Regions from separate parts of the Homo sapiens genome. Here region 2 is linked to region 1. Evidence: promoter capture Hi-C in 16 types of primary human blood cells and fetal thymus (Javierre and others, 2016). All regions are on one chromosome and are shown on one strand. The core of a region is centred on a gene start or on the middle of the fragment in contact, and the rest is flanking DNA. Distances in the headings are between cores, read along the strand shown.

The links. The method cuts DNA at HindIII sites, captures the fragments that hold promoters and counts their contacts. A CHiCAGO score of 5 or more calls a contact.
Region 2: a fragment that was not itself captured here is called in contact with the fragment with the promoter of P2RY12 in region 1 in 1 of 17 cell types (megakaryocytes); the score reaches 5.8 in megakaryocytes.

What each region holds. Positions count from the first base shown.
Region 1 is chr3:151,383,363-151,386,164 of GRCh38, forward strand. It overlaps P2RY12 (purinergic receptor P2Y12), which reads right to left and starts at 1,391. Exons shown (of 3, transcript NM_022788.5): 1 at 1,330-1,391. MED12L (mediator complex subunit 12L) reads left to right here. Exons shown (of 45, transcript NM_001393769.1): 34 at 417-526; 35 at 721-856; 36 at 1,668-1,829. The HindIII fragment of the contact is 1,524 bases long and covers 577-2,100 here.
Region 2 is chr3:151,189,118-151,191,919 of GRCh38, forward strand. MED12L (mediator complex subunit 12L) reads left to right here. Exons shown (of 45, transcript NM_001393769.1): 14 at 1,600-1,814. Among named protein-coding and RNA genes, the nearest start is that of GPR171, 13 kb to the right of the region's middle. The HindIII fragment of the contact is 3,739 bases long and covers 1-2,802 here.

The sequences.
Region 1 (2,802 bases), core at 141-2,640:
TATGGTATTATGATAGCAGGCTTAGATTCAATAGTAATTGTACAGCAAACACAAAGATGCAGATAATTGGATTACATGACTTTGACATTATTCAGGTTTAATTCAACTATAATTGCATCATAAAACTGGACATCATAAAAGATTTGGAACAAAAGAAAGCTAAGTTTATTGGTGCCCACATTCAGATACTCACGTCCCTTCTTCATTTTAGTTAATGTTTGAATGACTGAACTGTGCTGAAAGAACTAAAAATAGTGATAAACATGTAGGTAAAAGAGAAAAGATAAGGTAATCTATAAACTAGAGCATCCCTTGTTTTTTTAAATAAAAAACAATCAAAATTTGATAACATAAAGCAATGGGGTGTTCTTTCTGTTTTACAGAATGCAAATATCTTACTGTATTTTGTCTGCTAGGTAGGAGGAATGTTTGACACGGTGCAGAGGAGCACCCAGTGGACTACAGACTGGGCCCTGCTACTCCTTCAGATCATTACTTCAGGAACTGTTGACATGCACACTAACAAGTATGTTTTTATCACTTCACATTGATTTTGCTACATGTATGCATGGTATAAGCTTTGATATACTGATGGCGATTTCTGCCACATCTTATTTACTTGGATGCTATTAAAAATTCTGTGCCTTGAATAAAAATACTCAGTTAAATAAGTGTATTTCAGTTTCACTTTAAGATGAAAATAATTATTTTCTTTCTTAGTGAATTATTCACAACAGTTCTTGACATGCTGGGTGTTTTAATCAATGGAACGTTAGCCTCTGACCTATCAAATGCATCCCCTGGGGGATCTGAAGAGAACAAGCGTGCATACATGAATTTAGTAAAGAAACTGAAAGTAAGTTTGAGATCAGCCTGTATTATGAGCTCAAGTTGTTTATGGATTTATTATCTAGTGCATTTTAATTTATTACTCATTAAATGTTATTAATTGTATTCAACTTAATTTAATGTGATTATTTGCTATTTGTTTCACCTAACCTTATTAGTACCCAGAAGTTACATGCACATAACCTTGATTATTTTTTATTGAAAACAATTACATTATAAAACATGTTTAATTTTTTAAAGAACTTTAGAAATCCACTGTTAAATATATAACCAGAATACTAACATTAGATAGATTTAGGATAACTCTATGCTTGGACTGGCACGTGTAATTGAAAAAATAGCCATCTGCATTGAAATTTATAAATCGATTCATTTGACCGACCACTAACAGACTCCTTTAAAAAAAAATTGTAAGAAAACAGTGCAAAAAAGAAACCAAATAAATCTGATGCATTACCAATCAAATAAATCAATGGTTACCTTGTAATCTGACCCTGGACATGAGAAAGTGTTCTGTTCTGCAGCTCCTGTCTTCTGATTGTGATCACTACCCTGGATTTTTGTCATTTCAGCACTATGATGTTTGTTGTGTAACAACAGTGCCTTTGTATGTGTTCTATTTTCTACTTAAATAGAAGAAATGAAACACTCATTGCTCTATTTGGAACTGCCTTGTAGAACATGTTCAGGGTTAAAGAACATGCGCTAAGCTATAAAAAGGGAAATGTTTCATAGGGGAACTTCCTTCTGGTTAACTTTTGCCTTCATTGTAATTTCTGTCCCACTTCTCACTCTCTCTCTCTCTCTTTTTTCTTTAGAAAGAGCTAGGAGACAAGCGATCAGAAAGTATTGACAAAGTTCGACAGTTACTACCTTTGCCGAAACAGACATGTGATGTCATCACTTGTGAACCTATGGGTTCCTTGATTGACACAAAAGGAAACAAAATTGCTGGATTTGACTCTATAGATAAAAAACAGGCAAGAGTGAATGTTTTTTCTTATATATAAATTTATTTACAAAAGATGAAATACTTTTTTTTGTCTTACCATAGGATATATAAAATATATTAATTTTGCTGTTGATGTTTTTAAGGCATATGCTTGTCTTCTAAGTGTACTTAGTCATTGGCATTATCATATAAAGAGGTCATATCTTTGAAGATCTACGTTTTATATGTTTAAAGGACTTAAAATGTTTCCCTGAATTTAAGTAAATTTTTGGAAACCTACCAAGAGAAAACTAAGTAAAAGCTTAGTGTAAAAAAAAAATTGCATAAATAAGTTCTGATTATACTTCAGATTTAGAAGCAGAATATATTTATCAATGAAAAATTTCTTGTAAGCTGAGCATGGTGGCACATGTCTTTAGTTCCAGCTACTTGGGAGGCTGAGGCAGGAGGATTGCTTGAAGCCAGGAGTTTAAGGCTGCAATGTGCTAGGCTCATGCCTGTGAATAGCCACTACACCCTAGCCTGGGCAACAAAGTGAGACCCTGTCTCTGGGGGGGGAAAAAAAAAAAAAAACCTTCCTGTAGTAAGCTATTTCAAATAAAAATTATTTTAATTGTTAGGATATTCTCTATTCCTATCAAGCAGTATTTAATGGACATTTGTTTTATATAAGATATTAAAGATGGTTCTCTAAAATATGAGAAAATTGGTCAGTTACTCTTTTAATGAACAGTAAGCAACCACCGACATTCCACAATCACCAAGATGAAAGACAGAGTTCCTACCCTCAAGGGGGAAGTAGACAGACAATTACAGTGTAATGAGATTTGTGTGACATGGTACAGAGAGAGTATTAGGGGATAGAATAGAGGGTCCCCAGGAAAATTGACACGAGTCATTTTGAAGGATTAAGAGTTAGCTGGGAGGTAGGGAAAATTGTGGTACAAATAAAGGGAGAGTTTATATGAAGACATGAAAGAATCAGATTTACCAGGGAATTT
Region 2 (2,802 bases), core at 169-2,668, 190 kb before region 1:
AAAAATGGCAAAAAGTCAAAAGCAATAGAAAGAGGGAGAAAAAGGTTGGGGAGGAGGAAGATGCTTGTGAAGAAAGAGGTAAAGCAACAACAAACAGTACTCTTCTGAGTCCTCTGAGGAGGGGCCTGAGTGAGACCTGCAGGTGAGGTTCTTTGAGACAAAGGGCTCTCTCAGTTATTTGGTGGCTTCCAGGCTAGAAGGAGAGCAAGCACTGGAGCTAATCTAGTGGTTGGAACATAGGGAGGAGTAATTCATGGAAAAGGAAGCAGAAAAGTGAAAGGACTGAAGAGATCCCTGATAGCAGAAAATATATTGTCAGGCATGAAGTTAGCAGTTGTAACTTACCTTGTACCCTGGGGGAGACAGACATTTGCCCTTTGCTTCCCTCGTTTCTTCCCCATTCTTGTTCTCTCTTTAGGAAAAACTCCTTACTCCTGTGTCTTTGCTAGTTCATCTCATTTACTGTCTGTCAGAAAAAGCTGATCTGTTCCCTGAAAGAGGCTGCTCATCACCGAGTTTGGTAGTGAGCAAGAGGAAACATTTAGGTTCAAGGTTTAGGGAACTGAGCTTAATGTTCCTTGGATAAATGTGTCTCCTATTGGTGTTTGTGAATGTGATGGTACCAAGGATTGAGCTTTGCAGGTTCATCTTACAAATTTTGAATCTTATCTTAAAGGTGTAGTCACAAAACTTTAGAGTGCAGTGACAATATTGAAAGTCATAATGTGAGTTAAATAGGCTAGTTATGAATAAAAATAATCTGCAGAGCTCCATCTTTGTGTTCTTTTTATTCAGTTGTTCCTTTTTCTTTTCCGTGGATCCTGCTTACATTTTTTTCAAACACCATTTAAATTGTGGTTCAATTGTAAAATCTCCTTTGAAAATGTGCACCCATATTCTCACAATTGCACAGACCCACTCAAGCTAGAAAAAGCAGTCATGAACTGTTTTATTAGTAAAACCAGAGGACGGCAGTCTAGTCCTGCTGTCTTTTTTTCTGATCCTGAAATTTTGCTTTTTTACATTAGTACTTGAATGGGTATTCAGGACTACTATCTTTTTTTTTTTTTTGAGATGGAGTTTCGCTCTTGTCGCCTAGGCTGGGGTACAGTGGCACGATCTTGGCTCACTGCAACCTCCGCCTCCCGGGTTCAAGCGATTCTCCTGCCTCAGCCTCCCGAGTAGCTGGGCTTACAGGCACCCACCACCATGCCCAGCTAATTTTTGTATTTTTGGTAGAGACGGGGTTTCACCATATTGGCCAGGCTGGTCTCGAACTCCTGACCTCAGGGGATCTGTCCACCTCAGCCTCCCAAAGTGCTGGGATTACAGGTGTGAGCCACTGCACCCAGCCAGGACTACTATCTTTAAACTTGTAATCATGTTTACCATACTGGATATTTTTCAGTTATGGTGGGACAATCAAAACCTGCCTGTCAGTTCTGCCCAAAATGCTAGTGCCTCAGTAAATCTTCCAATAGATCTTTTTTTTCCCCAGAAAAGTTGATTGTGAAAAGTAATGAAAATATTAAGCCTTAGTAATTAGTTTTTTTCTACCACCTGCTCAAGGAATTCTTGATTGAATTTGTTTCTCTATAGCGGACCCAAACAGTGAATGTGAAAAGGTGGAATTTGTGAACCTGGTGCTGCTCTTCTGCGAGTTCATCCGCCATGATGTCTTCTCCCATGACGCATACATGTGTACCCTCATATCTCGAGGAGATTTGTCAGTCACTGCCTCAACTCGGCCGCGGTCACCAGTAGGGGAAAATGCAGATGAACACTATTCAAAGGACCATGATGTGAAAATGGAGGTATGGCCCTGGATATGATGCCCCACTCCCCCAGAAACTAAACTCTACTGGGAACCATGTTCAAATGGGTCATGTAGTGGTAGAAGAGTGATGGCTTTTTGTTGTATTCTTTTGCCCCAGTGGTTGTTTATCTCTACTTCTCGAGCAGGAAAGATATTTACACTGTAGCTTCTTATGTCTTCCAGAATTTCCCTTTGGATACTATAAAACTGTAATGAAAATAATCTGACAGGCCATAACATTTTTCATAGGATTGGAATTATATACTTTCAGTTCTAGATGTTTCTAATCTCTAGTTTTTCTTTAACATTGTGTCTCAAAACTGGACTTGTTTTGACCTTTAAGTGTCAGCTGAGTTTTCATTCTAAGAATCGTCTTTTCCCTAATGTATCATTCATTACTTATATCACTCTTTTATTCATAATGGGAAATTCTTTGTTAGTCACAACACATATTTTCATTTCAGTTAATTAAAAGTTTAATCTCTGTTTCTCAAATGTTGTAGAAGTGTCCTTTTCAACAAATTATTTTATGCTATGAGTGTGACTTTATAATTTTCTGCCAAATTCTGGTATTTTGGATATTGTTCCAGATACTTACTGAAATTTTCAAGGCAAAAAAGATGGAGGTGGTGATAGGAAGTTATAGAAAATGACGAGAACTTGAGACAATTGCTTAAAAACTGACAGTTTAGCCTGGGCACGGTGGCTGATGCCTGTAATCCCAGCACTTTGGGAGACTGAGGCGGGCAGACCACCCGAAGTTGGGAGTTTGAGACTAGCCTGACCAACATGGAGAAACCCTGTCTGTACCAAAAATACAAAATTAGCCGGGCGTGGTGGCACATGCCTGTAGTCCCAGCTACTCAGGAGGCTGAGGCAGGAGAATTGCTTGAACCCGGGAGGTGGAGGTTGCAGTGAGCCGAGATTGCGCCATTGCACTCCAGCCTGGGCAACAAGAGCAAAACTGTCTCAAAAAAACAAACAAA